Regions from separate parts of the Homo sapiens genome. Here region 1 is linked to region 2. The links are contacts of gene promoters, found by promoter capture Hi-C in human tissues and cell types (Jung and others, 2019). All regions are on one chromosome and are shown on one strand. The core of a region is centred on a gene start or on the middle of the fragment in contact, and the rest is flanking DNA. Distances in the headings are between cores, read along the strand shown.

Region 1 (4,977 bases), core at 2,254-4,753, 310 kb before region 2:
TATGCTTTTTAGATTTTGGTTGCTATCTTGCCAAAATAAGTGTTAGCTGTGTTTCAAACTTGATTTTCTTTCTTTCTTTCTTTCTTTCCTTCCTTCCTTCCTTCCTTCCTTCCTTCCTTCCTTCCTTCCTTCCTTCTTTCTTTCTTTCTTTCTTTCTTTCTTTCTTTCTTTCTTTCTTTTTTTTCCTCCAGAATGTCTTATTTAAAAAGAAAGCTAAAAGTATACTTCTAAGTTAGAGCCTCTATTTTTGTATAACACTTGGGATATTTTTTACTTCACATTGAATATAGACAGGCACCCAAGAAGTCTGATGGCCACCGGAGTGCGGGTGACAAGGACCTGACAGAGCCCATGCAGGGCTTTAGATTTGGACACACAAGAGTTGATAACTTCCTTATGAACTCCTTGCCTGATCTAAACTCAATATGGATTCTGACTGTGTTTGAGTAAAGGTTAAACCTGTTGGCAGTTACTGCTTTTCACAAAGTGCACAGTGGAAATCGAGAATTGATAGGGTTAATTTTGGAGCAGTGGCTTATACCATTCACCTCTTTGTTTTTTTGTGACTTATCTCACAGATAATGAGACCTTAATAACAAACAGGTGTAAAAAAATTTCACATTGAAATGATACAAACATTTGATGTAATAAAACCTTGTTGGCTTGATATTTTAAGGAACTGAAATCTAGCAATCTTACTGGAGAGACAAGAATTGGTCTCCAGCTGCCTTTGATAGATTCGGGTGCGAGTGGAGCCGGAGCCATATACCTGGAGGGAATGTGGTTTGTCACACCAAAGAGGATTTTTTTTCTTCAAACTTGCATGTTGCCTAGGTTTCAAATTCTTTGCCGCAAGGCTGATTTGCTTTCACTAACTGGAATTTTGTAGGAGATACTGGTGACCTAAGCTAAGTTGCATTCAACATACTCAGTGTCAAGCTAATGAGGTTCTGTTATAAAGCTTCTACTTTTAATCTGAGAGAAAACATGTTCAGGGCTTCTAGAACACTAAAAATTTTGACTTAGAACAGTGTTCAGTCTGGTGCCAAACTTCCAATGGAATTCAAATTCACATAATCTGAACTTTGTTCACAGGTTATCCTAATAGAGTAATTCTTCATTTTGTTCTATTGAACTGTCTTAAGGATTTGTTTCAAACAGCTAAGTTACTTGATTAAAATAATGATAAAATTGTAAAAAAAAAAAAAAAGATTAGTGCCTTTTTAAAATCCCTTATAACAAATTTTGTTTTACCCAGTCTTAAAGATATTCTATCTTATATCTTCTAGAACAGCAAGCACTGTCCACTTGAACTTTCTGCAATAATGGAAATATTCGATACCTGCATTGTCCAACATGTAGCCACTGAATGGCTACTGAGCGCTTGAAATAGCACTAGCCACATATGGCTATTGAGCAATTGAAATACTACATATGGTCTACGGCCATACCACCCTGAAATATTTTACAGATATTGTCAGTTTTCCAAAATGATTGTGTCAATCTTGTCTGAAACAGTACATATGATGAAATGAATTTTAAATTTTATTTACTTTTAAATAATTTAAATGAATTGTGGTGAATGGCAATGTAGTTCTGGCAATGTTGTTCCACCTGGAATTGATTTTCAGGTATGATGTGAGGTCAAGTTTCCCTTTTTTTTCTGTATGGATATTCAATCAATCCAGCATCATGTACCGAAAACACTATTAATTTCCCACTTTTATTATTAATCCATTGTCTATCTAATATGTGTGTGTTGTTCTGGAATCTCCATTCTTTTCCATTTGTCCATTAGTCTGTCTTTCTGCCACTTGCACCCTGTTTCCATTTCCTGTAACTTTGCAATAAGTTTTGATATTTGGTAGAATAAGTCCTTCATGCCTCTCATCTTCCCCAAGATTGCCTTGGCTATTCTTTTTTTTTTTTTTTTTTTTTTTTCGAGATGGAGTCTTGCTCTGTTGCCCAGGCTGGAGTGCAGCGGCATGATCTCGGCTCACTGCAAGCTCCGCCTCCCAGGTTCACGCCATTCTCCTGCCTCAGCCTCCCGAGTAGCTGGGACCACAGGCGCCCGCCACTACGCCCGGCTAATTTTTTGTATTTTTAGTAGCGACGGGGTTTCACCGCGTTAGCCAGGATGGTGTCAATCTCCTGACCTCATGATCTGCCTGCCTCGGCCTCCCAAAGTGCTGGGATTACAGGCGTGAGCCTTGGCTATTCTTGAACTTCTATATTTCCACATAAACTTTAGGATAACTTTATAAATTCTACCAAAAAAAACCCTGCTGGAATTTTTATTGGGATTACATTAAATCTGTCCATCAATTAATATGAAAGTCTTTACAATATTAAATTTTTTTATCCATGAATATGGTATATCCCTTCACTAGTTGAAGTCTTATTAAAATTTTTTGATGTTTTATAGTTTTCTATGTAGAAACCTGGTATATTATTCATTGGATTTATTCCCAATTATTTTCTATTTATTTTATAAGTGGCATATATATATGTATATTATATATATATTTTTTGAGACACGGTTTCACTCTGTCACTCAAGCTGGAGTGCAGTGGCATGATTTTGGCACACTGCAACCTCTGCCTCCTGGGTTCAAGTGATTCTCATGCCTCAGCCTCCCAAGGAGCTGGGATTACAGGCACCTGCCACCACACGTGGCTAATCTTTGCATTATTGTAGAGACAGGGTTTCGCCACGTTGGCCTGGCTGGTCTCGAACGCCTAACTTCAAGTGATCCTCCCACCTCGGCCTCCCAAAGTGCTGAGATTACAGGCATGAGCCAATGCACCCAGCCTTATAAGTGGCGTATTTTAATTTTATTTATTTATTTATTTTTTGAGATGGAGTTTCGCTCTTTTTTGCCCAGGCTGGAGTGCAATGGCACGATCCTGCCTCACTGCAACCTCTGCCTCCTAGGTTCAAGCAATTTTCCTGCCTTAGCCTCCCAAGTAGCTGGGATTACAGGCACACGCCACCATACCCGGCTAATTTTGTATTTTTAGTAGAGATGGGGTTGTTTCACCATGTTGGCCAGGCTGGTCTCGAACTCCTGACCTCAGGTGATCCACCTGCCTTGGCCTCAAAGTTCTGGGATTACAGGCGTGAGCCACCACGCCCGGCCATAAATGGCATATTTTAATGTTCATTTTTAGTTGTTTGATGCTGGCATATTGACATAATAATTAAAATTTTGTATTTATACTTGCATACAGCAACCCTGCTTAATTAACTTAATAATTCTTATAGTTTATTTATAGATTCACAATCATGTAGTATGTGTAGTGTGTGTAGTGATTTCTTTCAGATAGTTATTTTTTTAATTTTTTTTTTTTTTTGAGACGGAGTTTTGCACTTGTTGTCCAGGCTGGAGTGCAATGGTGCAATCTTGGCTCGCCGCAACCTCCGCCTCGTGGGTTAAAGCGATTCTCCTGCCTCAGCCTTCCGAGTAGCTGGGATTATAGGCACACGCCACCATGCTGGCTAATTTTGTATTTTTAGTAAAAATGGGGTTTCTCCATGTTGGTTAGGCTGATCTTGAACTCCTGACCTCAGGTGATCTACCCACTTTGGCCTCCCAAAGTGCTGGGATTACAGGTGTGAGCCACTGCTCCTGGCCCGTTTTTTAACTTCTTTTTCTTGAATTATTGGACTGGGTAAAACCTTAAGAACAATGATGAATAAAAGTGAAAATAGCAGGCATCCTTATCTTAGTTCTGATAGAAAGAAAGCACTCAATAATTTCAGTTAAATATGATGGTTGCTGGAGTTTACTTTTTGTAGTTACTCTTTATCAGATTGAGGAATTTTTCTTCTAATTCTAGTTTGATATAATTTTTAAACATTAACAGATGGTGAATTTTATGAAATGTATTTTTCTCATCAGTTAAAATGAGCCTGTGATTTTTACACTTTATTCATTTTATTTATTTTCTATTTTTATGGATAGGTAATAGTTGTACAATTTATGTGGTACATGTGATACTTTGATACAAGCATATAATGTGTAATGATCAAATCAGGATAATGGAATATCCATCACCTCAAGCATTTATCATTTATTTGTGTTGGGAACATTCCAAATCTACTCTTCTAGTTATTTTGAAAGGTACAATAAATTATACTTAATTATACTCACCCTATTGTGCTACCAAGTACAAGTGTGCCTGGAATTGGTGGGTTCTTGGTCTCGCTGACTTCAAGAATGAAGCCATGGACCCTCACGGTGAGTGTTACAGTTCTTAAAGATGGTGTGTCCGGAGTTTGTTCCTTCAGTTGTTCAGATGTGTCCGGAGTTTCTTCCTTCTGGTGGGTTCGTGGTCTTGCCGACTTCAGGAGTGAAGCTGCAGACCTTCACAGTGAGTGTTACAGCTCTTAAAGGCATCACGTCCAGAGCTGTTCATTCCTCCCAATGGGTTTGTGGTCTCACTGGCTTCAGGAGTGAAGCTGCAGACCTTCGTGGTGAGTGTTACAGCTCATAGAGGCGGCGCATCCGGAGTTGTTCATTCCTCCCGCTGGGCTCGTGGTCTCGCTGGCTTCAGGAGTGAAGCTGCAGACCTTCTCGGTGAGTGTTACAGCTTATAAAGGTAGTGCAGACCCAAAGGGTGAGCAGCAGCAAGATTTATTGCGAAGAGCGAAAGAACAAAGCTTCCACAGCGTGGAAGGGGACCCAAACGGGTTGCTGCTACTGGCTCTGGTTGCCTGCTTTTATTCCCTTATTTGGCCCCACCCACATCCTGTCGCTTGGTCTATTTTACAGAGCGCTGATTTCTCCATTTTACAGAGCGCTGATTTTGCCGTTTTACAGAGTGCTGATTGGTGCTTTTACAATCCTTTAGCTAGACACAGAGTGTTGATTGGTGCATTTACAATACTTTAGCTAGACAAAAAAGTTCTCCAAGTCCCCACCCAATTAGCTAGACACAGAGCGCTGATTGGTGCATTTACAAACCTTTAGCTAGA
Region 2 (5,446 bases), core at 1,289-3,788:
TGCTTCCTCCCTAATCTGGCTGACCATAACAGCATCCTGTCTTCATTTTTCCATCCTCCTCGCTCCAGTATATCTTCTGTACTACCTCAGGATTATCTGTGGAAGACCTGTCTCATGCCTCCTCTACCTAAAATTTTACAGTGGTTTCTCCATTACCGCAGAATAAAACTTTTTTTTCTTTTTTTTGAGACGGAGTCTTGTTCTGTCGCCCAGGCTGGAGTGCAGTGGGGCGATCTTGGCTCACTGCAACCGCCGCCTCCTGGGTTCACGCGATTCTCCTGCCTCAGCCTCCCGAATAGCTGGGGTTACAGGCGCACACCACCACCCCCGGCTAATTTTTTGTGTATTTTTAGTAGAGGGGCTTTCACTATGTTGGCCAGACTGGTCTCGAACTCCTGACCTCGTGATCCGCCCACCTTGGCCTCCCAAAGTGCTGAGATTACAGGTGTGAGCCACTGCGCCGGGCCAAAACTCTAAGCCTGCCACTCCGGGACATTCTTGGTCCTATTCCAGCTCCTCCTTCATTCTCATTTTGGCTCCTGTCACATGAACTATTGGCCATTCTCTTTTTTGCTTCTGGGATTGTAATCTGTTAAAATCCTTTCACTCCTCTCAGTCTGGTTCTCCATGGGCAAGACAGTGGTGATTCTTCCAGTGCTTATCTTCCAGGATGTTTTAGGGTCCAGTCTCTGCAGCACTTCTTCCCCTTGCTAAATGCTTTCCTAATGTTTCCAGCATTCAATAGAAATTCCTTTGGATCCAGTCCTTTTAAAAATTTATTTTGAAATAATTTTACATTTACAGAGCTGTTGCAAAAATGGTTAAGAGTTCCTGCACAGTCTTCACCCAGCTTTCTCCAATGTTATGATCCCATATAACCATGCTAGAATTACCAAAACTAATAAATTAACACTGGTAAAAATAACACTAAACTACAGCCCTTACTCAGATTTCACCAATTTTCCCACCCATGTTATTTTTCTTTCTCCTTACTCCTCTAATCTGTGACAGTTCCGCATTCATTCCTTGCTTTCATGACTTTGAGATTTTGGGGGGCGGGGGCGGGGTACAGGTATCTTGTAGAACATCCCTCACACTGGATTTAGTGAAATTTTCTCATGGTTTAAGGCTGGGAGTTTTTGTGGAAAATGACTCGGAGGTGATGTGCCCTTAACGCATTTTTATCGGGGCACACGGCATCAATATCTCCCCTTGCCAGTAATACTAACTTTGATCTGGTTACGGTGGTGTCTGCTAGGTTTCTTCGCAGTAAAGTCAATCCTCTTAACATGCAGACACTCCTGGAAGGAGAACCAAATCCTTCCTCACTGAAGAGCAGCTACTGTGGAATGAAACTTTGGAGTTAGATCATCGTTGAATCCAGCAAGCTACAGTGCCTGGGAGAAACAGCATTTATAAAGTATCGAGGTTACCGATACTTCCCTGAAGCTACCGGAGATAACGTTATGTGCGTGTTCAGCACAGTAATGTGGCACAGGGTTCACTAAACGGCAGCATGTTTTAACAGAAGTTATTTACTCCTAGAGGACCCAGAAACGTTTGCGGCCTGCCGGAACAGGACAACATAGGGCTCTGGGAAGAGTCCCCCTTTCAGAGGTGAGAACAAGACAGAACACACAGATGTGAAGTGCCTTCTGCTAGGTAACGCGAGGCGGGGCTGAGCTCGGATTCTAAAGACTCCCAGGCCAGCCCTAACCAATTCATCTCCGAGCTTGCACGGCATCTTACCCGGAGACTCGAGGTACCTGACTCCAGCCCCACCCCAGGCCTGCCCGATCCCGAAGCGCATTTTGGCCCTGGGCCTCTCTCTGGCTCAGTCTGGGCGCAAAGCGGGTCTCAGCAACCGTCCCACTTGCCTTCATACCCTCCCACCACGCTCCACTCAGGGACTCCAGAACCAGCTTAGACCTCCATTGAGAGCTGAAAGCCTCTTCCGATACCGAGAACCAGCACTGAAAGCCTCTTCCGATACCGAGAACCAGCATGGTTTTTGTTTTGTTTTGTTTTAGTCAGGGTCTCTTGCTCTGTCGCCCAGGCTGGGGTGCAGTGGCGCAATCTCGGCTCACTGCAGCCTCGAACTCCTGGTCAGGCGATCCTCCTACCTCAGCCTCTGGAGTAACTGGAACTACACGAGCGCGCCACCACGCCCGGCTAATTTTGTTTATTTTTTAGTAGAGAAGGGGTCTCTCCATGTTGCCCAGGCTGGTCTCGAACTCTTGGGCTCAAGCAATCCTTCCGACTCGGCCTCCCAAAGTGCTGGAATTACAGGCGTAAGCCACCGCGTCCAGCCAGAACCAGCATCTTTTCTGCACGGCTGGAGTTGGGAATTTTCCACAGCTTAGCGCACTGCTCCTTAGCTTTTCGCTTTGCCACAGTGGAAAGCAGATTTTCCAAGAATCCTGGCGGAGCCAAGATCGGCTCGCCCGCCCCCGCCTCACGCTGGCTCCTGATAGGCAGCTAGAGCTGTCCGTTTTGACAGAAACCTTTGCGCAGGCGCAGAAAGGCACAGGACTCGCTAAGTGTTCGCTACGCGGGGCTACCGGATCGGTCGGAAATGGTGAGCGTGCGCCGGGGTCTTGTGGCTGGCGGCCGCCCACCACCCCACGCCAGGCCTTCAGTCTTCCGAGGATGAGGGGATCTCAGAGCTCCGGACAGGGAATCGGTGGTGGCTGGGCGTGGCCGGGCCCGGGCCCCAGCCGACTTGAGGGTGGAACCCGGCGGCGGAGGCCTCTAAAGCCTGACCGAGGCGGGGCCGCCGGATCCCGCTGCCCCTTGACCGGAAGCGGGAGCCCAGCCTCGGCCAGGAAGAGATGATGGGCGAGGGGTGGGCGGCGGCCCTGCAGCCTAGAGTTTTGGGGCCTTGGTGCGCGATGGCAACCCTGGCAACGTTTCCCGGGAGCTCAGTTTGTGGCAGGCTCTGCCAAGCACTTTATGTATCTTGTATTTCCTCCGCCTCCTCCCAGCTCTGTGAGGTAGATACAATCTTTAGTCCCATTTTGTTATACATATCTGTTATTCAGCGCCCCGAGAAGCCAAGTGCTTTGCCCCAGGAAATAGTGGAGATGGATTTGAACCCTAGAAGCTTGACGGCCGCCACTCTGTCGGCGTGGTTCTTTCTAGCCGCTGGGACTGGGTGCCAGAGTCAGGAACGGGCGGGGTCTGCTCTTGGGGATCCCAAAGCTTGCTTTCTACCTTGCTTGCTGCAGCTGTGGGTTCTCAACGCCGTTACAGGTTTTGTGTTTGTAATCCTCACAGCTTGGGCAAAATTTGAAAAAGTTTCAAATTTTAAGCCATGTGAATATATTACTTTTTCAAAAATCTTATTTAGAAATCTAGAGCTTGTAATAAAAAAATTGAAAAAAGAAACCGTGTCATCACCTAGAGGCAACCACTTACAGTAGTCATATGACTTCTAGTCTTTTTTGCTTGTTTTTGGTTTATACAGTTTAGCCCCTATTGAATGTGCAATTGTGGGTTCTGTGTTTTTCATTATTACACCACAATATCTCCACATCATTACAAACATGTAATAATGCTTCAAATATGTATAACTTCATTTTTCACATCACTTCTTAAGCTGTAAAAAAAATTGATATATAATAGTTGTACACATTTATGTTGTAGATATACATGTAATATTTTGATACATGCATATGATGTGTAATGATCAAATCAGGCTATATTTATTATAGAATATCCATCACCTTAAACATTCATTATTTCTTTTTTTTTTTTTTTTTTTGAGATGGAGTGTGTCTCTGTCGCTCAGGCTGGAGTGCAGTGGCACCATCTTAGTTCACTGCCACCTCCGCCTCCCAGGTTCAAGTGATTCTCCCGCCTCAGCCTCCCGAGTAGCTGGGACTACAGGCGCCCACCACCACGCCCAGCTAATTTTTTGTATTTTTAGTAGAGACGGGGTTTCACCGTGTTAGTCCGCCTCAACACGGTGGTCTCGATCTCCTGACCTCGTGATCTGCTCGCCTCAGCCTCCCAAAGTGCTGGGATTACAGGCGTGAGCCACCACGCCTGGCCCACATTTTCTTTATCCATTTACCTATTGATGGACGCTAATTCCATAATTTAGCTATTATGAATAGTGCTGCAATATGAACATGAGGATGTAGGGATGCCTTTGATGTACTAATTTCCGTTCCTTTGAATAAATACCCAGTAGTGGTATTGCTGATTTATGGTAGGTTTTTTTTTTCGTTTTTGTTGTTGTTTTTGTTTTGTTTTGTTTTTTCGATGCCTTTGTCGAAAATCAGTTGGCCGTAAATAAGTGGATTTATTTCTGGGTCCTCTATTCTATTCCATTGGTCTGTGTTTTATACCAATACCATGCTCTTTTGGTTACTATACCTTTCTGGTATATTTTGAAATCAGGTAGTGTGATACCTCAAGCTTTGTTCTTTTCGTCCAGGCTTCTTTTGGCTTTTCTGAGTCTTTTGTGGTTCCATACGAATTTTAGGATTGTTTACAGGTAATACTTGCACACAGTAAAAAAATAAATGATGTAAAAGGATCTAAGTGAAAAATAAAATTCCCACTCTCCTAACCCCCAGTCTCAGTCTCTCCTCCTTTAGAAACAACCATTGTTAGTTTCTTTTTTTTTTTTTCTTGCAAACTTGACCCTCCTGGGCTCAAGTGATCCTCCTGCCTTAATTCCCCAAGTATCTGGGACTACTGGTGCACGCCACCACACCCTGCTAATTTTTTTGTATTTTTTTTTTGTAGAGTTGGGGTTTTGCCATGTTGCCCAGGCTGGTCTTGAACTCCTGGGCTCAAGTGATTCACCCACGTTGGCCTCCCAAAGTGTTAGGATTACAGGCGTGAGCCACCACACCCAGCTGTTAGTTTCTTATGCATCTATACAAGCACTTATATGGCCCCCCTTTTTCTTACTTAAACTGTAGCTTTCTAGAACCTGTATTATGCTACTCCGTGGTTATACTCATAAAAGCAATGCAAATTTAGATGCCTAGTTTAACTTTTTTTTTTTTTCTTTTGAAACAGAGTCTTGCCCTTTCGCCCAGGCTGGAGTGCAGTGGTGTGATCTGAGCTCACTGCAACCTCTGCCTCCCGGGTTCGAGTGATTCTCCTGCCTCAGCCTCCGGAGTAGCTGGGACTGCAGGAGCATGCCACCATGCCTGGCTAATTTTTCTATTTTTGGTAGAGACAGGGTTTTTTTTCTATTTTTAGTAGAGACAGGGTTTCACCATGTTGACCAGGCTGGTCTCAAACTCATGACCTCAGGTGATCCGCCCACCTCCGCCTCCAAAAATGCTGGGATTATGGGCGTAAACCACCATGTATGTTAACAATTTGAAGCAGTACCAGAGGATATAATATAGAAAGTTTATGTGGTCCCCATCTTACTACCCCGTGGCAACTTCTGTTGGCAGTTGGGTGTGTTTCCTTCCAGATG

Evidence for each region. The method cuts DNA at HindIII sites, captures the fragments that hold promoters and counts their contacts. A contact is called where the count stands out against the background at its distance.
Region 1: a contact is called between a fragment that was not itself captured here and the fragment with the promoter of DYNLRB1 in region 2, in 2 of the 25 tissues and cell types used here (IMR-90 fibroblasts and heart left ventricle).

Annotation. Positions count from the first base shown.
Region 1 is chr20:34,200,885-34,205,861 of GRCh38, forward strand. It overlaps a transcript of ASIP not described here. Among named protein-coding and RNA genes, the nearest start is that of ASIP, 38 kb to the right of the region's middle. The HindIII fragment of the contact is 6,854 bases long and covers 77-4,977 here.
Region 2 is chr20:34,513,884-34,519,329 of GRCh38, forward strand. DYNLRB1 (dynein light chain roadblock-type 1) reads left to right here and starts at 2,539. Exons shown (of 4, transcript NM_014183.4): 1 at 2,539-2,578. The coding sequence starts at 2,576. RefSeq lists enhancers at 1,561-1,620, 1,731-1,970, 2,359-3,224, 2,891-3,070 and a silencer at 2,431-2,540. The HindIII fragment of the contact is 11,693 bases long and covers 1-3,811 here.